7 separate regions of the Homo sapiens genome follow, and all the other regions are linked to region 2. The links are contacts of gene promoters, found by promoter capture Hi-C in blood cells and fetal thymus (Javierre and others, 2016). All regions are on one chromosome and are shown on one strand. The core of a region is centred on a gene start or on the middle of the fragment in contact, and the rest is flanking DNA. Distances in the headings are between cores, read along the strand shown.

Region 1 (3,804 bases), core at 277-2,776, 740 kb before region 2:
GAAACTCCGTCTCAGGAAAAAAAAAAAAAAAGAGGAAGAAAACTACCAGCTCCAGGTAAAAGGCAACACTATTGTTGTTACCGCCTTCTCCAGGACAGGAAAGGCAAGCCCAGGGTGAATAAGCAACTTTTGGGCACCTACTAAATGGCAGGCCCTGTGAGGCAGACACAAAGTCACAATTGATGCCCTCAAGAAGCTTGCATTCGGCCGGGCGCGGTGGCTCACGCCTGTAATCCCAGCACTTTGGGAGGCCGAGGCGGGTGGATCATGAGGTCAGGAGATCGAGACCATCCTGGCTAACAAGGTGAAACCCCGTCTCTACTAAAAATACAAAAAATTAGCCGGGCGCGGTGGCGGGCGCCTGTAGTCCCAGCTACTCGGGAGGCTGAGGCAGGAGAATGGCGTGAACCCGGGAAGCGGAGCTTGCAGTGAGCCGAGATCCCGCCACTGCAGTCCGCAGGCCAGCCTGGGCGACAGAGCGAGACTCCGTCTCAAAAAAAAAAAAAAAAAAAAAAAAAAAAAAAAGAAGAAGCTTGCATTCTAGTGGGAAAACAGAAATGTAGTTAGTTTCATTATAAAACCACAAAGTAAATATTAAACAGGGATAGGAACAGTTTGTCCTGACTGCAGGAGTGATTACTTCTGACTTGGAAATCAGGAAAGGCTTCATGTCTGTTGTACCTGGCTTACACTTGGAAGGATATGCGTGATTTTCATAGAAGAGTTGGAATGAGCATAGCAGGCTAGAGGGAACAGCATGAGGGATACATGAAAATAAATAACAACTACAATGCATAGTACATCAGGTGTAGGGCAGGATCTGGAAGAGAAATGTAATCAGGATCAGATTGAAAAAGGTTGTAGTTCCATGCTTGTGTTTGGACTTTGTACTTATTGGTGGCATCATAGAGGGCTTTTTTTGGCAATAAGAAGTTTGGAGGCTGAGCATGGTAGCTTACGCCTATAAACCTAGCACTTTGGGAGGCCGAGGCAGGAGGATTGCTTGAGGCCAAGAGTTCAAGATCAACTTGGCCAACATAGCGAGACCCTATCTTTTAAAGTACTTTTTTTAGGAATTTTTATTTTTCAAAAAAAAATTTGAAGCCAATACATCTGCCAGGACCCCTGCAATGATGATGGGGAGTTACTCAAGCAGTGAAAGTAGGAATAGAGAGAACAGACAAGATATGGTAGAATTGACTGAATATGGAAAACTAAACCAGAGAAGGGTCAAAACATGATTCACCCTCCAATACCCAACAATTTATGGGGATCTTTTAGAGCCAGCCATTTAGTGCCCCCTGGTGGACAGATGAGACCATCACAGCATTAACAGCAACAAGTCACTTAGGCTGTTTCATTCTTCCAGTAAAAAGTTTATATTGAACACTATCCAGACCCTCACTAATCAGCCTCTGCAGAAGCCACAGAGATCACGGCACTATTTTAGGTGAATCTAGTTAGGAGAAAAGATAGACCTCAAATGCCTAACCCATAACAGAAAGTAGAATAAATGACCAAATCCTAAAATATGTGGTGGATAACACTGACATGAGATTTTAGAAAATACTGCAATTTGAGAGGTGGGTTAAGGCTTCAGATATAACAGAGTTTTTTGTTTTGTTTGTTTTGAGACAGAGTCTCGCTCTGTCACCCAGGCTGGAAGTGCAGTGGCTGAGTCTCAGCTCACCTCAATCTCCACCTCCTATGTTCAAACGATTCTCCTGCCTTAGCCTCCAGAGTAGCTGGGACTACAGGTGCATGCCACCACACCTGGCTAATTTTTGTATTTTTAGTAGAGACGGGATTTCACCATGTTGGCCAGGCTGGTCTCAAACTCCTGACCTCAAGTGATCCGCCCACCTCTGCCTCCCAAAGTGCTGAGACTGCAGGTGTGAGCCACTGCGCCCGGCCACAGAGCCATTTCTTTAACATATGATTTTTGAAGAGCATCCAGGTCAGAGGCAATTGTGAACAAAACATCCTGAGAAGTAAATGAAAAAATAGTAAGGTTGAAATACTAAGAAATTCTATAGGTAATGAAGTCTGAAGGTTCAACCTGGCTAGTGATGTAGTGTTCAAGTTTTAAGACCAATCTGACACTGGAATAAAAAATGGAGAAATTAGGATGCCCAAGACAAAATTTAGATATGAAAACAGTGAAAGCCAGTTGTGAAGTCCTAATAAACTAATCCTGGCCAGGAGCTGTGGCTCACGCCTATAGGAAGGCCAAGCCAGGAGGACTGCTTGAGCTCAGGAGTTTGGGACAGCCTGGGCAACACAGCAAAACTGTCTCTACAAAAAATTAGCCAAGTGTGAAGGCAGGCACCTATAGTCACAGCTATGTAGGACACTGAGGTGGGAGGATCACTTGAGCCCGGGAGGTTGAGGCTGCAGTGAGCCACTGCACTCCAGCCTGGGTGACAAAGCAAGACCATCTCAAAAAAATAAATGATCCAATTAATATAAGTTAGCTGGACACATTAAATGGTTACTGCATGGTTGGAAAAACAAGCTTTCCGATTGTCTCTTAGCTAAGTGTATTTTGTCTTCTGCATTTCTTGGGCCCACCTTGAGGTAGAAAAGGTAGCTGGGTGCAGTGGTTCACACTTGTAATCCCAATACTTTGGGAGGCTAAGATGGGAAGATTGCTTGGTCAACATAGCGAGACCCCAAAGACAAGGTTACCCAGACCCCAATCCAAAGCTCTAGGGCTGCAGGCATGGATAGTTCATTTGCACGTAAGCTGTATCAGGAGCACACAAAAGCGCCATTAGGTCAGTAATTCGGCTATTCCTTTTTTTATTTTGAGACAGTTTCACTCTGTCACCCAGGCTGGAGTGCAGTGGTGTGAACTTGGCTCACTGCAAGCTCCACCTCCTGGGTTCACGCCATTCTCCTGGCTCAGCCTCCCGAGTAGCTGGGACCACAGGCACCCGCCACCTCGTCAGGCTAATTTTCTGTATTTTTAGTAGAGGTGGGGTTTCGCCATGTTAGCCAAGATGGTCTTGATCTCCTGACCTCGTGATCTGCCCACCTCAGCCTCCCAAAGTCCTGGGATTGTAGCAGTGAGCCACCATGCCCGGCCCAATTCAGCTATTCTTTTACTTTCCCAGGCTTATTTCTCTCTCAAATGCCAATCAGGGTTACATGTTATCCAGAAAACCTATCATTCTCAACTAAACACATAATGTTCCTGCTAGTTGTAATGTAATTCCTACTCCTTAATTCACAAGTGGCAACCTCCCTTCCACAACACCAGTACTTCTACCACAAGGCAGAATTAATAGCCATCTGCGATCTAAGAGAGAATAGGAAGATAAATAATCCTTACACCCAAAAGGCCAAACAATTTTTATTTTCAAAAACAACTTTATTCATGACACATATTAAAAAAAAATTCCCACCCCTGGAAATGAGCTAAAAAAATAAACAAAATCCACCTCCCACCTCCCTGTTCCCACTTCCTCCCATTCCCTCCAAATAAAAGGGAAAAAAGGCAAAGGAAAAAAAAAAAAAACAAAAAAACAAAACAACTGAAAAACAAAAACACCCCTAAACCCCCCAAAACAAGGTAGTGCATTTCCCCAGGGGGAAGGGGAATTTACACTGGAGCCGCTGGGAGCGGAACGGAGATCTTCCGGCTACAGAAACCTGCAAAGAAAGACACTCAAAACAGAAAAAGAAACACAAAAGGAAACAAAATAGATCACCAGGCAATCTGGAGGGGCAGGGAGCCGGAGAAGAGGGGTGGGGTGGGTGGTAGACCTGGCTGGACAGGAGCAGGCAGGAGGGGACTGTGAA
Region 2 (3,811 bases), core at 1,312-3,811:
ACTCTTATCCACTACTCTGGACAAGAATTTTAAACTATATTAATATTCTGATTTAAACTAATTGAAATCAACACTAGTGTTAGCAATTTCCTATTGACAGATCAGTTAAAAATGTTTCAATGATTATAGAATCATAAACCGAATAGAGAAGTAGGCCTTTTCTTGCTGTTTTAAGTAGTTCAGAAAAGCCCTAGTGTAGTATATTGGTGTGACTAGCAGGTCTCAGAAACAAATGCATTCAATAAGTCCATTTGGTGTTTTTCATCTCTTCTTCTCTCCTGTGAGAGTTCCTGGGGAGATCTTAATGATGATAGTTGACATGGATCAAAGGCAGACAAAACATAAGGGAGAAAACACTGGAAGGAGCCTGGCTGATGGAACAGAAACTCCCTGAAGAATCCACACCTGAATGATTAAAAAGCATCAGCCTAGCCTGTAAAGTTTGAAGTTGAATATTCGTGAGGAAGCTACCCTCCTACTTGTTGATGAGGCAGAGAGAAAGGTTCAACTTGTCAGAGAAATTGATGCTTCCTGCCATATTATATTGAAATAAGAACCAGCTTGTTATCCACTCTTTTTTTTTCTTTCTCAGCAACATAGGTTTAGGCTGAACTTATGTTCATATAGCTGCACAAATCTCCACGGGTATGAATATAAATCTATCTATTCAAATAGACTCTAAAGGTTTCTTAGGTTATTTCTCTTCTTTCTAGAACTTAAGTAAGGCTTTGATCACCACTGATAATACATCCGTTAGTTAATGCGTGTAGAGTTTCCAGTCTAAAGGCAAATAAAAAGTGAAAAGGGGCCGGCGCAGTGGCTCACTCCTATAATCCCAGCACTTTGGGAGGCTGAAGCAGGCAGATCACCTGAGGTCAGGAGTTCAAGATCAGCTTGGCCAACATGGCGAAACCCCGTTTCTACTAAAAATACAAAAATTAGCCGGGCGTGGTGGCAGGTGCCTCTAATCCCAGCTACTCGGGAGGCTGAGGCAGGAGAATGGCTTGAACCCAGGAGGTGGAGGTTGCAGTGAGCCGAGATCGCACCATTCACTGCACTCCAGCCTGGGTGACAAGAGCAAAACTTCATCTCAAAAAAAAAAAAAAAAAAAAGTGAAAAGGCAGGAACGCTGTTGTTCACCTGCTGTTTTAGGAATTTTGCTCACGTACAGTTCAAAATATTAAGAAGCTGAAAATAAAGTACCTGGTCATGTGTGGAAAAACTTACAGCTAAAAGGTGAGATGAACTGGGTCTAGAAGGTCGGATTCACGTGAAATTAAAAGGGCAACGAAAGCCAGAACTTAATTTCTTAAAAAAAGTTAAAACAGGCCGGGTGCAGTGGCTCATGCCTGTAATCCCAGCACTTTGGGAGGCCGAGGCTGGCGGATCACAAGGTCAGGAGTTCGGGACCAGCCTGGCTAACAATGGTGAAACTCCGTCTCTACTGAAAATACAAAAATTAGCCGGGCGTGGTGGCGCGTGCCTGTAGTCCCAGCTACTAGGGAGGCGGAGGTTGCAGTGGGCCGAGATCGCGACACTGCACTCCAGCCTGGCCGACAGAGCAAGGCTCCGTCTCAAAAAAAAAAAAAAAAACAGTTAAAACCCTCAAAATAATCCCACTTGTTAAAATACAAAACCTGAAACCATTTCAGTTTCTTCTGCAAAATGAGTTGGAGAGAGTAGGGTTGAACCAGGCATGCTCTTTCGGGCCTTTCGACGCTGACATCCCGGGATATTACACCAGGTTCAAGATACCAGCTTGCGGAAAGAGAGCTGCTAAACTTGACCATATGCTTTTTGCACGACATTCGACAGCTGTCCCTCCCTTCACCAGCTCTTTTAAGGCTGCAAATATATCTGATTCACGTGAGAGTCCCTACAAGTTAGTACAACGTCAGGCCCCAAGGAGGCGCCCAATAAATGTTGGCATTGCAGGGCCAGATCCCGAGTTCCAGTTCAGAACCCTGCTGAGGTCAGGCTTCCTCCCTGCCTCCCGCCCCTCACCACACCCACTCACTCCCCCAAGTAATTAAGTCTAAACTGGGGCCTGTGCAGTGATTGGCCGCGCCGGGTCTCACTGCGGATGAACTTGACTTGTTCCAATGATCTGTGACAGACATCTGCAGACAGCGCCCTTAACAGAATTAGGGTCAGGCTGGTATCAAACCCCAGGAACGCCAGGCATTGCCTCAAAGTAGATGCAAACCGTTAAATCTTCCAGGACTCAGAAGGACCAGAGAGAGCCGGATACCTCTGGTTAGCTACGCGGTCCCCAGTAAAGCTTATTCCCCTCTTCCTCCCAGTGTGTCTTGTTGCCAGAGCAACTGTGGGCGTCACCGAGCTGACGGGCGGAAACAGAACAGAAAGAGTACACGTCCCCAGCTCATTGATAGGGCCATTGCGCAGACGCATTAACTTTTCTGAGTTGTAGTTGAGTCTGTTGATGCAGTCCGCGTCTGCGCATTAGTTGTTACGCGCCCTGGCCGGCCTCAGCGCCTGCGCAAATTGGCACACCGGGGAGGGCGGAGTTAGGTCACGAGGGTGCGCATGCGCAAACAGCACATCCGGTGTGGTCGACGGGTCCTCCAAGAGTTTGGGGCGCGGACCGGAGTACCTTGCGTGCAGTTATGTCGGCGTCGGTAGTGTCTGTCATTTCGCGGTTCTTAGAAGAGTACTTGAGCTCCACTCCGCAGCGTCTGAAGTTGCTGGACGCGTACCTGCTGTATATACTGCTGACCGGGGCGCTGCAGTTCGGTTACTGTCTCCTCGTGGGGACCTTCCCCTTCAACTCTTTTCTCTCGGGCTTCATCTCTTGTGTGGGGAGTTTCATCCTAGCGGGTAATGGTTCTATAAGTGATCATAATAATAATGTGTTACTTTGGTGTGCTGCTTTTGTTTTCATAGTACTCTATATCAGACCACCGCCCCTTGAAGTTATGAGAAGAGCCTGCATTGCCCTTTTGTTGTGAATGGGGAAATTGAGGCTCAGAAAGCTTAGATTATATGCCTAATACCAAACGGCTCCGTAGGAGTTGGACTTAAAAGTCTAAAGAAACCACCTTCGTGCCGCTACTCCACTTGGTGATCCACTTCACTTAATATTGGTCCGGGGAAAACCCTATTCCAACTTTAACTTAGGTTTAACACAACTCTAAAATTAGTAGACTTTTCAAATGAAAAACCCAACCTTGAATCATCTCTGTCATCTTGGCCTAATCATTACCAATCTCCGGTGAAACGTTTCAATGAAAGTGCAAAGAATATAAATACTGGTGCTTTTCTTGTTGAATCATCCTTTACTTGATTTTGCCTTTTAGCTGCTACTACTTTTTTTCTTGTTGAGGAAGCTGTTATTTCACTGTCCTGAACCCAATTTTTGTTCACATAACTCTATTTTAGCCTTATTTTTCCTTTTGATTCCAGGATTTGGTAACCTTGTAGACTGCTATATTTAGCGAGAACAGTCTCCATCAATTTTTGTTAAAATCTGACTTTTCTTGCCCAACGGGGATTCAGTGAATACTGAAAACAGGCGTGGCCTCTATCACTGGTATCACCTGCTACTTTGACTTTGAAAACATGCCAGCATTCATGGTTTCTTTTCAGTGTGATCATCAGTCAGGTCATCAGTTGTATTTTCAGTCCAATATGAGGCATTATGGTAAAAGCTTTGGCACATGTTCTTTATCCGTAAAGAGTTTATGGTCTAGTTGGGGTACAGACAAAATACAGCATTGGAATTGTCTGGAGGCCTGGCACAGTGGCTCATGCCTGTAATCCCAGTACTTTGGGAGGCCGAGGTAGGCAGATC
Region 3 (4,047 bases), core at 1,096-3,595, 740 kb after region 2:
CCAAAAGAGGTGCGGAAGATTGTGCAGGAGACCAAAAGATTGTGCAGAAAGAGACACAATCTTTCTGCCTCTGTGGACCAGGCTAGAAAAGACAGACCCCAAGGAAGAAATGGAAAACAGCTCAAGTCTCAGGCTAATCCCAAAGCTCCATGTACCTGGGACTGACTCAAACCAGATCAACAAAGCTTGGGTTATTCAACTGATATTTGAACCACTATTTCAGTCTCAGACTACCTCCTGAGTGGCACCAATGCAGGACAAAAAAACCAATGTAGCAGAGAGCTCAGGGCTGACCTGATATTTGAGCCACCCAAACAGGTTTCACACTAATCCCTAAGCTACACATGACTTGGATAAATCCAAACCAACATTGCAAATGATTAGAGAACTGAACTGAGATTTTGAGCTACCAAATTCCACAAAAGGGAAGAGAAAATTTACAGTATGAACCAAACTAGGTTGATTTCCTGCTAAAGCAAAAGCATCAAAATTCTTCAGAGGAATGCTTTGTAAAGAAGAATAAGGATGAGAAGGAGAAGAAGAAAACAGAGTCTACACCCTTAATATTTAAAATGTTTAATATGCATTTCAAAATTATTGGACATACAAAGGATCAGAAAAGTGGACTAATATTTAAGTAAAAGATCAACAGATGAAAGGTCAAGATGACTAAAATGCTAGAAGTAATAGAAAAAGACGTTAAAGTAGCTCTTTGATTATGTACCACAAAGTTAAAAAAGGGAAAATTTAGCCCAGGCATGGTGGCTCATGGGTAATCCCAGCACTCTGGGAGGCCGAGGCAGGCGCATCACGAGGCCAAGAGTTCAAGACCAGCCTGGCCAACGCGTTGAAACCCCATCTGTACTAAAGATACCAAAAAAAAAAAAAAAAACCCAGGGGTGGTGGCACGCAACTGTAATCCCAGGTACTCAAGAGGCTGAGACAGGAAAATGGCTTGAACCCGGGAAGCGGAGGTTGCACTGAGCCGAGATCATGCCATTGCACTCCAGCCTGGGTGACAGGGCAAGACTCCGTCTCAAAAAAAAAAAAAAAAAAAAAAAAAAAGGAGATTTTAGAACTGAGAAATACAATATCCAAAATCAAAATGTCACAGTAAGGGCTCAATAGCAAAATGAAAGTGATAGAGAAAAGAATAACAAACTTGAAAATAGACCAGTATAGGTTATCTAACCTAACTAATTTTGACTTTGCTCCCCTCAGGAGACATTTGACAAATCTAGATAGAAATTTGGGTGTCACAACATGGGGTATGTAATGCTACAGGGATCTAGTGAGTAGAGGCAGACCTTAAAATCAAGAAAAAAATTGAAAGAAAACAAAATAGAGCTATGGAGAGCTAGTGGGAAAGTGTCCTAAAGTCTAAGTTGTAACTAATGGAGTCCTAGAAGGAGAAGAGAAAGAGATTGCGCCAGAAAACATATTTGAAAGAAGAATGGCCAAAAACTTACCAAATTCAAAGAAAGACAAACTTATGAATTTAAGCCCCAAACAGGAACAAATTAAAGGGAACCACATGTAAACATCATAATTATACTGAGGACAACAAAAGATGATATGATTTTACTTGCGTGTATGTGTGTGTACAAATAGCATATATATGAAGCAGCTAGAGAAAAACAACATATTAATATCATTGGGGAACAATTACTTGAATGACCATAGATTTCTAACCAGAACATGGAGACCAGCAGACAATGAAACAGTATCTTTAAAGTGAGGGGGGAAAATGGTTGGCACAGAATTACAGACCCAGTAAAAATATCTTCCACAAATAAAGGGCAAATTAAGAATAAAGACATCTTCAGATAACAAATGACTAAAAAATACCATTACCAGCAAACCTACTCTAGAAAAAATGTTAAAGGGAGTTTTTTAAGTTTGAAGGGAATGACATCAGTTCAAACACATCTCCTGGTGTCAGAGGAAAACTTACTTTAGAAACAAAGGAAGGATACCAGAGTTAGTAAATAGCTGTTAAATACGAAATATTATTATTCCTAGTGAGTTTTATACGGTCCATACAATTATTTAAAACAAAAATTGTACCATTATATGGTGAGCTTTCCAATATAGGTAGCTTTGATATACATGAACGACTACAACAAACTTCAGTGTTTGTTGAAGAGACAATTATTATTGTATAATAAAGAGACATATTATACAAAAATTTCTACATTTTACATAAAGAGGTACAACATCACAGAAGACCCTGGAGAGTTAGTCATATGTATTATAATCTCCAGAGCAACCACTCAAAAAATATGGAAATATAACCAAAGAAGTCCATAGATTAAAATAGTGTTAAAAATGTTCAAATAATCCAAAAAGTGTCAGCAAAAAAAAAGAACAACAAAAAATAAGGGAGGAACAGAAACACAATAATAACATAGTATACTAAAATCCAATTTCATCAATATACATTAAATTATAATTATCTAAACTAGCCAGTGCAAAACCAGAGATTGACATAGTGGATAGAAAGACCTTATATATAAAGCTACCTAAAGGAAACACACTTTAAATTTAAAGTCATAGATAGTTTAAAAATAAATAGATGAAAAAGATACAGCACACATCAATAAGCATCAGAAACTTGGAATTGCTATTTAATATTATAAAACAGACTTCAAGGTCGAGTTCTTGAGTCACAGAAAGTCTCAGCATCTCAGGAGGCTTGTGTTCAGCTCTCCTGCAGTCTCAAGCACTGTGTCACTCACAACACAGAAGTACTCAGCCGCGTCGCTCATATGGGCTGAGGGTTTCGTCAGGTGGAAGGAGGTTTCACTCTTCTTAAATTCAGCCTCAAAACCGTTGATGCCTTTAACCAGGGTGGCCGCTGATGTGTACTTCAGGAGAAGCTGGAGTCCTTTGTTGGGGTGTTGCACATACCAGAAGAGAGACGGTGAATAAGAAGATGAGTAGTTGCACCTCAGCAGCACCGGGGTTCCTTCAGAGACAGAGACGTGGCTGTCAAGCTGGGTCACCGACTGGGCTCTGGTTCCTCCTGCAACACCAATGCTGTGTAAGCAAAAGCAGCGCTGACTTCGCTAAGAAGTCTACTTAGAGGCAATTACAACACAGTCACATTTACAAAAGGAGGAAAAAGAATGGAATGTTACTCACCCAGGGTAAAAATCACCTCGAGCACTGGGACGAGCAGCAGGAGCATGGCTGAGCAGAGGCAACGCTGCAGGACCCTGAGCAGGGAGGACAGAAGCCAGGGGTCCTGAGCCTCGGGAGCTAGGAGCAATGGGGAGGTTGGGCTGGACAAGTCCCTGGCTTTGAAAAGTTTCCAAAACAGAAAGGCTTTCTCTTAAGGAGTCTGGATGTGTTCTGACCTCTTGCTCTCGTCACAGCTCCCTATCTACACAGACATCAGTGAGCTACATCAGCCAGCTGCAGGGAGGAGGCTCAGTGGATGAGGATGGTCGGCAATGAACACAGATGCCTCCTTAGTGCAACGTCGCCCCCTGGAGGGCACAGGTGGAACCACAGATCCAAGGAAGTGAACTGTTTCCTTCTCATTTGAGAGATGTGATATCAAAACCAACAGAAAGTGTTTCTTTCTTCCCGAATCTGTGATGACGTCATCTTCCGTAGAGTATATGGTTTTAATTTTAAATACATGAGAAATGAGAATTATGTAGAAATAGAAGAGTAATTTACTTCCCTGAGAAATTAGTCACAGAAGACAACGTTGTAGACTTTGGAAAACCATTGAGACACTCTATATTAGTAAAGTCGTTCATCAAGAAGAGGGGTGGTGATCAGTTGTCTCAGTCTGGGCTGAGCTTCATATGGCCCTGTGCAGCTGGATGTGAGCATTACAGTGGGTGAAAGAGATTATTCCTTTAGTTGACTCTTTAAAAAATAAATTAGATCAGAGACTCATACTTAAAGTCAGCCTGGATCACATATCATTAATTAATCAAAGCAAACGATTAAAGGCAAGAATTTTCTTTGTCAAGTGGAAAGTGTGGAAAAGACTTCCTAATTTCAGGTCAACAAGTTTAATATTTGTGAACC
Region 4 (3,833 bases), core at 127-2,626, 760 kb after region 2:
AAACTAAACTAAACTAAAGCAAGCAAGGAAATGCCTATATTGGAATGCAAACTTCCCAAGATATTCCTGTAAAAGAAAGTGAACGCAATAGACAAACATAGACTCAAGCCTCGTAATGGAAGGTCTTTTGTGTCTGCATTTATCTATTTTGTTTATTACCCTACTCCTTCTACCTACAAAAACACCTGTCACTTATTATTTGTTTTTTATTTCGTTTTGTTTTGTTTGAGACAGACTCTCATTCCATCGCCCAGGCTGGAGTGCAGATGTGCAATCACAGCTCACTGCAACCTCCGCCTCCTGGGTTCAAGATATTCTCCTGCCTCAGCCTCCCTAGTAGCTGGGATTACAGGTGCATGCCACCATGCCTGGCTAATTTTTGTATTTTTAGTAGAGACAGGGTTTCTTCATGTTGGCCAGGCTGGTCTCGAATGCCTGACTTCAAGTGATTCGCCCACCTTGGCCTCCCAAAGTGCTGGGATTACAAGCATGAGCCACGGCACCTGGCCTCATTATTTGTTTAATAAATAATTGTGTAATGAACAAATTCAATGTGTGTCTCTCCTTCAAGACCTAACTAAATTTGCTATTCCCCATGATACTTTCTCCTATCTTTTCTGTCCCACAGTAATCTCCTCCTGAGAATACCTTTAAAACTTATTTGTCCACGTACTTGGAATTTTACCTATTGATTCCATTTTCATGTATTTTATCTTTTTCCTCAATTAGTTTATGATTACTCACACAAGTCTGCTGTAGCAGCAATCTGAACTTTAATTTCTTCACTCTAAAGACTTGAAAGGAGATACAGGACAGGAAAAAATATCTGATTACTGAATATATCTAGGTTTACTTTTTGCTCCAGAAGTCAAGGCATTTTGATGTCTTGACACTTGAGCTATCTCCAGACTAGTTACAAAGAACAGTCCAGGTCCTGGCTTCATTTATTCACAAATTATCAATTCACTGAACTTGGAAATGAACTTACTTGCAGTGCTCATAAGCATAACAAATCAATCTTATTCAACAATATCCTGAAATGTGTGATCATCTTTAAATATCAATTCCTGTGAGTTGATAGTGACAGATGAGATGCATTCCTTTAAATTTTTTAAGACATTTGTTATTTTTTAATAATCTTTATTTTGACAGAAGAAAAATCCGAGAACTATAGAAAATTAAAAGTACAGAAGACAAGGAAAGATAAAAAGTAAAAACATTATATTCCCACAATACAAGGATTACCATTTTTAATATCTTAGTATATATTCTTCCCATTTTTTTACAGTTGATATCTGCCTTTTAAATAAGTACTTTTCTCATCTAATTCTCAAATTATATGTACATTTCTCTAATTGTCCCAAAAAGAACTTCACAGCTAAGTTGTGAAAACCAGAGTTCACAATTGCAGGTAGGCATTCTGTCCCTAAGTCTCTTTTCTAGAACACTGATGGTTGAAAAGCCTGGCACAGTTGTTCTGCTGCCTGAGAGTGACTGTGTCTGCCAGGATCCCCTGGCCTTCCAGTGTCCTCTAAAGGAGCAGTGATGGAAGATAATAAAGAGTTGATGCAGCACCTGGACAAAAGCCTTGATCTGGAGCATAGCTAAATGGGAAGAGCAGATTTATTCTCACAGGATGCTTTCTGAGAACTTGAATAGCCATGAAATGACAACTGAATGTCTTTCAGGGGAAGGAAACTTCTCAAGATATTTCCGGCCAGGAGCAGTGGCTCACGCCTGTAATCCCAGCACTTTGGGAGGCCAAGATGGGTGGATCACGAGGTCAGGAGATCGAGACCATCCTGGCTAACACGGTGAAACCCCATCTCTACTAAAAATACAAAAAAATTAGCCGGGCGTGGTGGTGGGCGCCTGTAGTCCCAGCTACTCAGGAGGCTGAAGCAGGAGAATGGCATGAACCCGGGAGGTGGAGCTTGCAGTGAGCCGAAATCACGCCACTGCACTCCAGCCTGGGCGACTGAGTGAGACTCCATCTCAAAAAAAAAAAAAAAAAAAAAAAAAAATTTCCATCAGCCACATAAACTTGTTGCTCTTTCACTTAGTTGACATTCTGCTGGTAGGTGTCCAGATCAAAAACCAAGCTAGTCTCTCCCTTCCAAACAACACTGTCATCTACTTCAGCAATAGTAACACAGCATGACAGACTGTCTTGCCCTTGGGAACACCCAGATGTAGCAATTAACTTTGTGTGTTGAGTGAGAATGTCTTTATCCTCGCTTGAGGACATGTATTCTACTTGAGCCTAAGTAGAACTTTAGGCTCAAGCTCAAATCAAATCATGTCGGAGAGATAAATATTCACTAGTGAAATCATATTCTGCATAAAAAATAACGGTCTACTCTAACTCCTATGCCTCCTTGATAACCTCCAGGTGCAGGTTTGCATACTGGCTTCAAGTGCCTGTGGAGCACAGTGCGCTCACCACACAGATGTAGGAGGCTGAATCGCTGAGCTGGGAGGCTGTGATGTGCAGAGAGCTTTGCTTTGTGTCTGCATCCAGAGTTGCTGTATATCTTCCGTTCGACTTTGTGTTCTCACTGAAAGTCATGATTGTCAGGGAAACAGGACCTCTCCCCGTATCTTGCTTATACCACCTTAAGTTGCTGAAGGGGCTCACTGTATAATTGCATTGAAGAGTGCAGTTCTTTCCCTCCAGGATGATCAGGGACTGAGGACTCTGCTCCACTTGGTTTTTGCCATTCCCCCCTATTCAGAAAGAAAAGTGAGATTCAAGAGATCCATCATCCAGTATTAATACTGTCTAATTTGCATCCCTTCCTTACTCCCCACAATGAATCCCAAGTGAAACAGAAAATGGTCCCATTTTCTCCCTTCCTCCTATCCCAGTGGACTACATCTTCACCCCAAATCCTAAGAAAATATTCCCTTGACTTACTATGTTAACTTTGCTAAAACTCTCCACTAACTTACTATAAAAATAAAGCCACAAAATCACCAAGAAGGTCGTCAGATGCTTTTTCATTTTTATTCTGCAGAGATCTGCTCCCAGAAGTTGACTTGTGTATTCAACATCTTCTCTTTTTTTTTAACACTAACCAAAGGGTTTCTCAGAGGGTATCCCTAGCCAATCAGAGACCAGGCTTCGCTATGTTACACATACTACACATTCAGACCTGCAGGCGGGGCGAATGCAAATACTGCCCTCTTGGGGTCAGAGCTACAATTGCTTAGAACTTTTGATCAAGCTTTTTTCCTCCTATTTGCAGCATGATATAGAGGATAAAGCCCTTCATGTCTATATCAGCACAGTAGATTAGTAATTTAGACATATATTTGAAGCTCTGCATTCTGGCTCTATGTGATATTAAATAGGAGAGTTGAGCCTTAGCTTTCTCATCTGAAAATAGGTATGATAACACTTACCTAACAATTTTTGAAAGATTGAAGAGATGATTCATGTAAAGGCTTATTGTAGTGGCTAACATGAACTTAGCCTTCAACTGAAATATAAGCTCCCTTAGGATAGGGACTTTTATCTGTTCTATTCTCTGCTACATTGTCAGTTGCTAGAATAAGGCCTGTCAATAAATAGGCATATAATAAATTTTTATTGAGGGAATGAATAAATGATAGTTTTGTTCTGGTAATGACAGAGTTATTTTTATTATTCATTTTTAATTCAACAATTATTTTTCAAATGCCTACATTTTCAGGTATGATGATAAGTGCTGAGAATAAGCAAAGTCCCTGCACACAGGGGATGACATTCTAATGAGAGGAAAGACAGAGTATTTGAGCATAGATGCAAGTGACTGGTAAGTGTTGAAGTTTTTGAAAATTCTCTTCTGATT
Region 5 (3,735 bases), core at 66-2,565, 720 kb before region 2:
ACCATCCACTCCTGCACTTGTCCCACCAGTGGTTCCATCTCCTTGTTGACACTCTCAGCACACAGTGCAGCCCCAAAGACAAAGAAGGCTACAAGGCGGCCCCAGTTGGGGCCCCCTTGAAAAAGTTCATCGGAGACCTGGGTGAAGCGTTGTTGGGCTGAGCCTGGGGTCACATGCAGCTGAGCCGCCAGATCAGAGAAGGTGCGCCGGAAGCGGGTCTCGAACTCATCTCCAGCTGCCCGCATGGCTTGGTGCAGCGGGTCAGCTGCTGGGCCCTCCCCGGGGCCAGCTCCACAGACATAACCCTTCTGCCTCAGCTTATAACCTACAAAGTCTGCCACCAGAGCCCGTGTGTCTGGGGCCGAGGCTGGGGTCGCCATCCGGGCGGCTATAAGAGGCAAGGATGAAAGACTGGCATGAATATATGAAGAGAGAATCAGAAGGAGCACTTCTGGTTTGACCAACCCAGTGAGATGAGGAGGAGAGAGGAAATGCTCAGGACTCACTGGACAGGGAGAGGCAAGAACAAGGGAATTAAGTCATGATATGAGACTAGGCTGTGAGTGGCTGGCCATTACATTCCTAATATGCCAAATTAAATGTAAAACAAGTAAATTTTCTGTTTAGGATACTTTAGATTCTTTTCACAATAAGACAACGTCAGCTCAATGACACCCCTACAACACCCCCACCCCCGGGTCTCCTTAGTCCACACCTTCTTGGCTAGAGGAAGGGTCTTAGGACCTCCCCAAATGCAAGATGTAAAGATGTTGGCAGAGACACAAGATGAGGGGGAGCAGATGGGCTGAAGAGAAAGGTGGGAGACGCAATGGGTTACTCCAGACAGAGAAAGGAAGGAGACACTCACCCAGCCGGGATGGCAGCTCTTAAGACACAGCACTGGTGGCAAGGAGCCCCCAGCTGGGGCCTTTCATCCTCCTGGCCAGCGTGGAGCCCTGGAAAGGGGAGGGGGAGATCAGAACCAGGAGGGGAAGGCCAGGGATCAGGTTCTGGCCTGGGAAGGGCTAGGGTTGCAGCTCTGGGCCTAGGCCCCTGCCCCCAACGCTCTACCAGCTGTGTGGCCGAATCCATGTTTAATGACTGTCCTCCCGGGAAACCCAAGGCCAAGGGCTTCCTGCCGACACCATCTCTATTCCCGGTTCCCCCTAGTGCAGCCCAAAGGCCCAGCTCCTCCCTTACCCCCACCTCAGCCAGTCTCCAACCCCGCCCGCCTGCCAGGTTAGGGATCTCACGGGTCAGGCCGCTGCCGGGATCCGGGCCGTTTCCTGGTGCAGGAGCTGGGAGGGAGGGAGAGAGGGAGGAAGGGAGGGAAGGAAGGAGGGAGGAGAAAGGGGGGGGCAGAGGGAGGGCCCGGCGCCGGGTGATGATGGGGCCCAGAGATGCGTCCAGAGAGAGGGGCGGGGCTGGGACGCAGGCCTGCAAAGGGCCACTACTCAGGAAGAGGGAGGGCTGCTGAAGGCAAAGAAGGGCTGGCTGAGAGGGCACGGTGGGCTGGGCTGGGCTGGGCTCCTGAGCCTCTAGGCTGCCCAGAGAAATATGCCGGACTTCGGGACATCTCGGGGCAAATTTAGCATTTTCAGGAGGTTTCCGATGTTCCATGCACTTGTTGAACTTTTCCAGCCCTGAACTGTGTGCCTGGAAAACAGGAGCAGTTCCCATTAAGCTGGGAACCGTCTACCAGGTGCCTTACCCTTATGGGGCTAGCAGACACCACATAGACACCAAACCTTTCCCATCTTTTCTCCAGGACCTTTAACCCAGTGTTCTCTTTGTGGGCTGGGCTTCAGCCAGGCATTAGGGAGCCAGGACTTGGATCACAAGCAGTTTCTCTCGGTACTTTTCTTTAATTCATCTTCTTTTGTAATTAGATTGATTTTAGTGGGGTTTTTTTCTTTTTCTTTTTTTTACCCAACACACAAACTCATTCTCATTATGAAAAAAATCAAACAATAAAGACGTGCGGAGTAATAAAATACAGGTTCTCAAACACACACACACATACACACCCAATTCCACTTCCCTCCCTGCAGGTTGCCAGTGTTAAGCTTGATGTTTATCCTTCCAGATTACATATATATGGGGCCATTATTTATACATGGCAGTATATTTATACAGGGCAGGTCACAGGCGTGAAGCAGTCTGACCATAGCTGATCCACATGAGGGCACTCACAGCCAGCCCCCTGGGCTCTTGGATCTGGCACTTTTTTAAAGAGTGCCCCAACCAAAGGCCAGAAAGAGGCAACCTAATTCTCCTATTCTGCTAGCTCCCTTTGCTTCTACCTCCAATCCAAGCCTCTGTATTACCATCTTCCCTTATGGTCACTGGAGAAGCAAGGTCTTTTCTGCAGCAATAACAGTAACAACTAGCTGGGTTCGGTGGCTCATACCTGTAATCCCAACACTTTGGGAGGCCAAGGCGGGTGGATCACTTGAGGCCAGGAGTTCGAGACCAGCCTGACCAACATGGCAAAACCCCATCTCTACTAAAAATACAAAAATTAGCCAGACGTAAAATACAAAAATTAGCCAGCCTGTAATCCCAGCTGCTCAGGAGGCTGAGGCATGAGAATCACTTGAACCCAGGAGGCTGAGATCATGCCACTGCACTCCAGACTGGGTGATAGAACGAGACTCTATCTCAAAAAAAAAAAAAGGTAAAAACTAACATATTTTGAGGAGTTATTAGATGCTGTGCTTTTTTTACATGTGTATTTTTTCCTCTCACCAGTCCTTATGCTGTTTTATCCTCATTCTATGAATGAGGAAATTGAGGTTTGGAGAGGTTAAGTGATTTTCCCAAAGCCATAGGCTGATATGTAAGAAGCTAGCACAGCCATCTCATGCTGTAACTTTGACACTATCGCTTCAAGATCACCTCTTGCCTTCACATAGTCAATATGGTTCTCATAGTCTGAATCCACACCATTTACAAGTCCATACTCAATTCTCTCCTCTATTCTAAACACACAGCCTATTACACTCCTTTATGGCTGTATCCTTTCAACCATCCTCATTTCATTTTTGCTCTTAGCCTGATCATTCTGGCTGCCACCAGCAAGGTTGCCCTCTTCTTTAGAGAATAACCTAGTCCAAGTCTTCATTTGCACTCCTGGTTTATTTGTTTGTTTGTGATACAAGGTTCTCACTCCATGGCCTAAACTGGAGTGCAGTGGTACAAGCACAGTTCACTTCAGCTTCCACCGTCTAGGCTCAAGCAATCTTCCCACTTCAGCCTCCCTGGTAGCTGGGACTAGAGGTGTACTGCACCATGCTTGGTTAAATTCATTTTTTATAGAGATAGGGATCTCATTATGTTGCCCAGACTGATCTCAAACTCCTGGGCCAGCTTGATTGTAACATAAATTAATGTATGATTTATTAGACATTAATTTATATGCATTATATATATTATATTGTATATGCATATACAATATATACATTGTATATATTGTATCACATATAATGATACGAAGAGAATACATCCATGCATTCTATATACGTGTAAAATTTAAAAAGTCAATATTGCTTTAAAAATGAGTCCTAGCTAACTAGTATTGCTACAGTCAATACTAGTGCGAATGCATGTAAACAGGAATGAATTGTATAATAATAAGATAACATGTGTCTCATGGTTTATTTTCAACTTAGTCACTTGTGGTTTTACAGTTAAACTATCCTGCTGCTTTAAATTTAGAGACTTCATTTCTACTCT
Region 6 (3,777 bases), core at 783-3,282, 870 kb after region 2:
CTCAATAAACACTTGCTGAATGAGCAAATTCTATGGTTTTAAATTGTAGTTTAACATAATAAGTGACATATCCTGGAAGCACACCGTTCTCATGTGAAGGAACAAAGACTTCAAGAAAATGGGCTTTACCAGACTCAAGAGTTTGTGTTCTGCTCCCCCTGCAGCCCCTATCAGTGTGTGTCTCTCACAGCACAGAAGTACAAAGCGGAGTCGCTCACAAGGGCAGATGGTTTCTTCAGGTGGAAGGAGGTTTGGCTCTTGTTAAATTCAGCTTCAAAGCCATAGCTGCCTTTAACCAGGTTATCCCCTGTGATGTATTTCAGAAGGAACTGGAGGCCTCGGTTGGGGTATTGAACATACCAAAAAAGATAAGGGTTTCCAGAGACTGAATAGGTGCATTTCACAGTCAGAGGATTCCCTTCAGCAACGTTGACCTGATCTTCCGGCTGAGCCACTGACTGAGCTCTCAGCCCACCTGTAAATTAATCATGCTGCATCAGTGAAGCTGCTGGAGAGCATGTAAGTGGATCATGCGAGTGGAAAATGGGAAGGGGATATTACTCACTCAATGTGAAGAGCATCGCAAGCATCGAGATGGGTGCAGAGGCCATGGCTCCAGCTAAGCTCACGGCGGGCGGGATTGGGGGGGTCCTTTCCAGCCCACCTCTGCTGGAGATATGGCCCCACCCCAGAGAGTGGGCTCTTGAAGAGGAACCAGCAACCCTGTGTCAGCACAGGGCTTTTGGAAATGGCCCTTCCTCAGGGCACTGGTGCTTCCCGACACCGGTATCTTCTCTCTGTGGAGCACAATTTTGATCCAGCTCCTCAAAGCTCTGTGAGGAGCAAGACTGCCGCTCCGCCTATGCCCAGGACAGACCTTACACTGCATCGCCCCCTAGAGCCCACACGTAGGACCAGCGACTTTACTGTCAAGCAGCTGGTGCTTCCTGGCCTTATCCCTGGGCCAACCTTTGGATGGTTACACGCTCCATGAGGGACATAGGGAGCAAATTAGGGGTTCAAAGGAGAAGAAATAGAAGTTTGTGAATCAAAGTGGAAAAGATTCAGGCTGAGTGGATCAAGCTGTAAATGATTTGTGCTCTCTTAAGATAATGTAGAGACAGAAAGAAGGGAAATAGGATGGGAAAATGCACAGAAAAAGAAAGGAAAATATAGCTTTGCATCAAGAGGGAGAGAAAAATTTAAAGTGAGAGATAAGAAAAAGCAAAATAGGAGAAAAGAGTAAGGCAAGAGAAGATAAATGACAGGCGAAAACAGGAGCCTTGCTCTTCTCGTTAGAAGTAATTCAGAGCTGGCTTCTGTGTAAACCTCTTTGACCAAAAATAACTCAGAATTTTCTCCACGTTGGGCCTATTAGGAGCCCATCCCATAATGATCTTTAGGGCAAAAAGAAACTTGAATCTTCTCTTTAAACATTTTTAGAGTGAGAAAAGTACGAATAGGTGTTATAAATATTTTTGGAGCATTTGTCATATTAAACAGTACATATAAAACAAAAAAATGAAACTCTGAGAAGGGGTTGCAAAACAGGTACTTTCCACATGCAGAGCCTACTTAAAACAGACTTCAAATGAAGTACGTATTCAGCAAAAAATGTATGGTTAACGAAACTTGATGTATTATGATGGGGAAAAGGGGTTCATTGGAAAGGGATGGCATGCTAAAGTTTTATACTAAAAAAAGGCAACAATAGCAACTGAGTGATTCTTTGATAGATTTTAATTTTAATGTAAAAAGCATGTATCAATATAAAGAAGTTGTTCCTCTGATTTGCCTTCTGTTTCTTTTGAATAGTGTCCAAATAATGTTCACTATATATTCTGAGGAAAGGATGAAAAATCTCTTTGCTTTGAATCAGAAAAAAAGTGGAACATAATTCTTTCTAAAAGCTTTGCTAAAGATCTCATATTTAATCATTGAAAACTTAGCCATATAATAATGTTTTTCTTTGGAATTGGTAAACTGTCTTTAAACAATAATCTTCAAGTTCCAGAGAGACTTGTCATAAATGGAAACATATAGTGAATTTCTTCTCTTTCTTCTCTCTCTGCCTCAAGCCTAAAATGAGTGTTAGTGTTGTCTTTTTGAGGGTCCTGGCAATCGCCTCGAGAAAATCATTGAAAAAAAGCTTAACAAAAAGAATATTTTTAAGTGTATGTGCAAAATTTAGGGAAAACTACAAGGGAAGGTGAAGCACCTGGGGCTAATAACAGCCAGAAGATTTCACCACTCCTAGGCCCAAAGGGACGGGAGAAGATGAAATTACCCTAATCTCAGGACACCTGTAACTAATCACAGGCCAAAGGCGACATGACCCTTTACAGTCTAAATACCTCTTCTTGACCATATTCTGGGTAGACCCAACAGGAGCTGTAAACTTCAGTAGAGGAAAGAAAGGATCCTAAAATGCAAATATCTTGACCACTCTCTCCTGCTAATACCTCCCACTGGGGTAAACCCAACCAGATGCCAATGGACATGGGAGACCAGTCCACATAACGTATAGAAGTCAGCCTCCTGGGGTACAGAGCAGGATATAATAGACCTGAAGAGGAAAATGGAGAAATGTCCAGCCCTCTGATGCTGGAGTTTATTGCTGCCCTACAAATGCATATACGGGCATAGCTATACTGCATTTTGACAAACATAAAAAGACAAATAAAATAAGTTTAAAACAATAGTCTAATATAGACTTTAGTACAGAGCAGGATAGAATAGACCTGAAGAGGAAAACAGAGACTGTCCAGCCTCCTGACACTGGAGTTTATTGCTGCCCTATAAACGCATATATGGGCATATATCAACATATGATATGATCAACATAAAAAAGCAAATAAAATAAGTTTAACTAAAACAGTAGTCTAGTGTAGACTTCAGTGCCTTGATTATTTTTCCAATCCCTACTTCCTCTGACCTCTACAGATACAGCACACAAGATTATGCCTAGATCGTGCAAGTGGCTGAGATATTGTTTGCCTTCATCCATTTAATAATTAATGCCAAGAGCCTCAAGTGAACTAAATATTTAGGAGACTGATATTTTTAATTTTGTGCTAGAAATGGTTGATTGTTTAGTGGTCTCCCCCTAAAGGATACTTATGGAAGGAACTAACCATATTTATTAATTAAGCATGTTCAGCTATAGAAAGAGGAAAGTTTTCCTCTGAATTTATGTCGTGGTTAGAAATGGGTAGTCATTTGCAATGACAGAACTGTTGCAGAATCCTTAATCATCTTCTTCTTAATCTTCTTCTTCTTCTCGTCTTCTTCATCTTCATTTTCTCCTTCTCCTCCTCCTCCTCCTCCTTCTTATTCTTCCTCAAAACTAGGACAGTTTAGTCTTCGTGTTTGCTTCCAGTTAAAGAACTGCCTTTTAACTGCTCAGCAGATAGAGAAGGATTCAGGGACCTCCACATAATGCACTGCACACAAAGTAACCAGCAGCACCCAAAGAATTCCATGGGCCTAGACTGAAATTTCAAAATTGAACAACATAGCCTCAGTAGCTATTCAGCTTATCTGCTTTGATTTCTGAGATTAATTAAGAAATTATTCATCAAATGTCGCCGTGAGCATAACATTAAACCCTTTACATTCTTTGTCACATTTACTCTTCCTAAGATGCCCCATTTTAGAGATGAGGGGACCACAGTTGAGGAAAATTGAATAATTTGCTCATCATCCTTAAGAAAAAGAACAAAGATTTTTAACCCATATTTTACCGACTTCAAAGGCATATTCCTTTAAATCATATAG
Region 7 (3,622 bases), core at 1,045-3,544, 710 kb after region 2:
CACTATATCCTAGCTGTCTGTACTTTGGGACTTATTCACAGCTGGGAGAATCTAGGATCCTATGAGGCATGATTGAGGTTGCTATTGCAGGTTGGTCTCCTCTTCATGCTTAGAGTTCTACTGACAGTAGCCTTAATTAAATCTTGTGTAAGACAAATTCTATGCGTTTACTCTCTACCTCTCTAGTCAAATTAATCAGAATGACTGATGGAGTGGAATACTCATAAGAAAAATTTCCAGCAGCTAACATGACATAAGACCATGGAGTGGATAGTGTTGAAAGACAGTCCACTATGAGTCTCTTGTACCCCTACATGACCTGCTGGGTATGCCAATAGTGTAAAGCCATGACCTCCCTACCAGGACCACTTTTCAGAGTTAGGCTTGCAGCAATCAACCTTAAGGGATGAGTTAATGACTCCCTGTACGACAAAGAGCAAGCTGGCTTACTGTTTACTGTTGCTATAAATTTCCCAGGCTCAGAGTTCCTCATCTATGACACAGCACCACTGCATGCAAACTACTCATCAGCACTCACTGTATCATCTTTTGGGGACTTAAGGAAAGAGTAACTGAAGTGAACTTACTAATGTTTAGGCTGTTTGCTGTGCCATAAGTAACAAAATCCTTTGTCTCTGACTAAGGAGTCTCATGTCTTTACTGAAAACCTGGATGAAACAACACACTTATTAGCTTGCAGGAAGAGGGAAAAAAAACCAAGAACTGATAACACCCTTCTCTACTATAGTAAAGGCTTGAACTACATGTGAGAAAGATAAGTTTCTCCAAACTAGTCTGGAAGAGACCTTTTTTTGAAGGATGTAATGTATATAGCCCCATAGGTAATTAACCATCACTTCCAATAAAATGCTTGAGCAATTTTATAATATACTTTAATGAAATAAAGACTCCTTCTGGGAAATTAGTGTTACCAACTCAAATGACTATTAATCTTTTGAGAAGCCTAATAGCCACTACACAGATGGTCAAAAGCAGGGTAATTATGAACCAGTCCTTTGAACGTAAATATCTTTAAACCAGATCTTTTAAAAATCTGATCTACAACACGTCTACCAAGGCTATTTATTTGAATTTGTTTCCTGAGGGGCATTTACTCTTACAGTAATTTGAATTATAACTTTGACTTCAGCTCATAATTATTGGACTTGAGAAGTTACTTTTATACTTTCTAAAATGTTTTAAGTGTTTTTTTCTTCATTTAGATATTTCATCATGTGTTACTAGCCTTTAGAGTTGACTAAGTGCTTCAGATCACATCTGATAAAGTGAGGTCACTTTAGTGAGGAAAGGCTGAGACCCTGAATGGATCTAACTATTTGACCAGAGTTCACTGAGCACAGAAAGGCTGGGTTTTGAGTCTGGGAGCAAGGGTGAGAAAGAACTGAGCTGCCCCACATAATGAAGCAGAGAGAACACAAAAAGAGGTCAAAGTTGCTAGGGTGAGACTGAGAGGAAGGAAAAAAGGAAAGAGGAGGGCCAAATAACATCCATCCATTTATCATTTAGTGAATATTTTTTTGACTGACTATTATAGGCCAGTCATTATTCTAAGCACTAAGAATAAAGCTGTCCACTAAACAAACAATACCTCTGACCTCGTAAAGCCTGTATCCTAGGTGGAGATATAGACAATAAACACATTGACAATAAACACGTAGACCAACAATATAACTGCACATTATGATTATTACCGTAATGAAATATAACAAGGGTGTTGTAATAGAGTTAGGGGAAAAGCCATGATGGCCACATTAGTCAGGATGATCAGCAGAAGTCAGCAGGTTTTCTCTATAGCAGTGGTATTTGAGCTGAGACCTGAGGAATGAAAATGAGTCAGGCTCACCAAGATTTAGGGTAAGAGCACTGCAGATGATTGAGAGAGTTAGACTAAATGTGGAAAGGACATGGCAAGTTCAGAAATCTGAAAGGAGGTCAGTGTTTTTGCTGCATAGAAAGCCAGGAAAAAAGAGTTTAAAGCTGAAGGGACAGGGGAGGTTTGAATGATACAGATCTTTGTATGCCACAGCCTAAATTTGCATTTTATTCCAGGAGCAATAGAAAGCCATTGAAGCATGTTTGCCAATTAGAGACATCTCTTTATTTATACTTTAAAAAATCGTTCTGGGAACCCATCAGATGGGTGCTTCTCAAACTTTGAAGTGATAGAATCACCTGGGAATGTTAACGAAATGCAGATTCAAATTCAGTCAGCCTTGGGTGGAGGCTGAGCATCTGCACAAGTCCAGACAGTGCTGGCCCCGACTCTGAGTAGCAAAAGCATGGAGAATAGATTGCCTTGAGGAAAAAGAGACCAGTTAGTAGGTTGGTGCAAAAATAATCGCGGTTTTTGCCATTGAAAGTAATGGCAAAGCCACAATTACATTTGCACCAGCCTAATAGAAGGTAATGTGGGCCAGAACAGTATTCTTCAAACCTTTTAAAAAATCTTATTGTATGAAAGAATATTCTATGTGATGGACTCTGTTTTTAAATCACATTTTTAATAATAAAATATATAAACTCACACTTTAAAAGAAAACTAAAACATTGCTAAAGTGTTTATTAATAAAATGGAAGCTACTTTAAGATAATAATGGTCATAATTGATAAAGTATTGAAAAATCAGCATCACCATGTGCTGCTGTTGAAATTACACTTTGGTGAAATATATCTTCAGGAACATTAGGCATTTAGTGTTATATGTTCTCCCTTATTCAAGCAACTCTATTTCCATTAAAATTACAAATTTAATTATGTTTTTAAGAAGCATTATCTATAACACTGTATAAGAGGAAATAATACCAAAAGTGATAAATTTTTTAAAATATATCTATATAATGGAAACTAGGCAATCACTTAAAATTATGCCCTCTGGGTGCACATCAAAAGTGGATTGGATAAAGAAAATGTGACACATAAATACCGTGGAATACTATGCAGCCATAAAAAGGAATGAAATCATATCCTTTGCAACAGCATGGATGCAGCTAGAGATCATTTTCCTAAGCAAATCAATGCAGAAACAGAAAGCCAAATACCATATATTCTCATTGATACGTGGGAGCTAAACATTGAGTGCACATGGACATAAAGACTACATGTAGATACTGAGCATTACTAGAGGGGGAAGGAGAAAAGGGGCAAGGACTGAGAAAATAACTGTTGGTATTATGCTCAGTACCTGGGTGATGGGATCATTTATACACCAAACCTCAGCATCATGCAATATGCTCAGGTAACAAATCTGCACATGTACTACCCCCTGAATCTAAAATAAAGGTTGAAAATAAAAGAAAATAAAATAAAACTGTGCCTTCAATATAAGCTTCCTGGGATGAAAACACCTAAACATAATGTTGAGAAAAACAAGCATGGTAATAAATACTGGATATATTGCAAACCACTTTTATAGAAAAAATAGCTACATATGTATACCAAAATTTTTTACAGGATAATAGTTATAATTTCTTGATTATGAAATTATAGGTGTGTTCTATTTTTCTGGGTGTTTTATGTCTTTATATATCATTTTATATCTTTATATATACATATAAGTAATAAAAATGTAATTTAGTTCAAAATTACAACACACAACTCCTTT

What was found. The method cuts DNA at HindIII sites, captures the fragments that hold promoters and counts their contacts. A CHiCAGO score of 5 or more calls a contact.
Region 1: a contact is called between a fragment that was not itself captured here and the fragment with the promoter of DAD1 in region 2, in 1 of 17 cell types (monocytes). The highest score is 5.3, in monocytes.
Region 3: a contact is called between a fragment that was not itself captured here and the fragment with the promoter of DAD1 in region 2, in 6 of 17 cell types (total CD4 T cells, non-activated CD4 T cells, naive CD4 T cells and 3 more). The highest score is 11.1, in total CD4 T cells.
Region 4: a fragment that was not itself captured here is called in contact with the fragment with the promoter of DAD1 in region 2 in 6 of 17 cell types (fetal thymus, naive CD4 T cells, non-activated CD4 T cells and 3 more); the score reaches 7.3 in fetal thymus.
Region 5: the fragment with the promoter of BCL2L2 here is called in contact with the fragment with the promoter of DAD1 in region 2 in 1 of 17 cell types (total B cells); the score reaches 5.5 in total B cells.
Region 6: a contact is called between a fragment that was not itself captured here and the fragment with the promoter of DAD1 in region 2, in 1 of 17 cell types (naive CD4 T cells). The highest score is 5.3, in naive CD4 T cells.
Region 7: a contact is called between a fragment that was not itself captured here and the fragment with the promoter of DAD1 in region 2, in 2 of 17 cell types (non-activated CD4 T cells and activated CD4 T cells). The highest score is 6.2, in non-activated CD4 T cells.

The regions. Positions count from the first base shown.
Region 1 is chr14:23,325,712-23,329,515 of GRCh38, reverse strand. BCL2L2-PABPN1 (BCL2L2-PABPN1 readthrough) reads right to left here. Exons shown (of 8, transcript NM_001387346.1): 8 at 3,353-3,804. PABPN1 (poly(A) binding protein nuclear 1) reads right to left here. Exons shown (of 7, transcript NM_004643.4): 7 at 3,353-3,804. Among named protein-coding and RNA genes, the nearest start is that of PABPN1, 6.2 kb to the right of the region's middle. RefSeq lists a silencer at 1,234-1,323. The HindIII fragment of the contact is 1,983 bases long and covers 535-2,517 here.
Region 2 is chr14:22,587,974-22,591,784 of GRCh38, reverse strand. It overlaps DAD1 (defender against cell death 1), which reads left to right and starts at 2,561. Exons shown (of 3, transcript NM_001344.4): 1 at 2,561-2,838. The coding sequence starts at 2,628. RefSeq lists enhancers at 2,281-2,922, 2,923-3,564. The HindIII fragment of the contact is 712 bases long and covers 2,284-2,995 here.
Region 3 is chr14:21,845,905-21,849,951 of GRCh38, reverse strand. It overlaps TRA and TRAV8-2. Among named protein-coding and RNA genes, the nearest start is that of OR4E1, 170 kb to the right of the region's middle. The HindIII fragment of the contact is 4,315 bases long and covers 188-4,047 here.
Region 4 is chr14:21,824,679-21,828,511 of GRCh38, reverse strand. It overlaps TRA and TRAV10. Among named protein-coding and RNA genes, the nearest start is that of OR4E1, 150 kb to the right of the region's middle. The HindIII fragment of the contact is 3,707 bases long and covers 1-3,229 here.
Region 5 is chr14:23,304,413-23,308,147 of GRCh38, reverse strand. BCL2L2 (BCL2 like 2) reads right to left here and starts at 1,315. Exons shown (of 4, transcript NM_004050.5): 1 at 1,254-1,315; 2 at 869-956; 3 at 1-388. The coding sequence starts at 380. BCL2L2-PABPN1 (BCL2L2-PABPN1 readthrough) reads right to left here and starts at 1,315. Exons shown (of 8, transcript NM_001387346.1): 1 at 1,254-1,315; 2 at 869-956; 3 at 1-388. The coding sequence starts at 380. RefSeq lists an enhancer at 1-456. The HindIII fragment of the contact is 2,126 bases long and covers 1-2,068 here.
Region 6 is chr14:21,720,723-21,724,499 of GRCh38, reverse strand. It overlaps TRA and TRAV3. Among named protein-coding and RNA genes, the nearest start is that of OR4E1, 49 kb to the right of the region's middle. The HindIII fragment of the contact is 239 bases long and covers 1,913-2,151 here.
Region 7 is chr14:21,879,302-21,882,923 of GRCh38, reverse strand. It overlaps TRA. Among named protein-coding and RNA genes, the nearest start is that of OR4E1, 210 kb to the right of the region's middle. The HindIII fragment of the contact is 5,895 bases long and covers 1-3,622 here.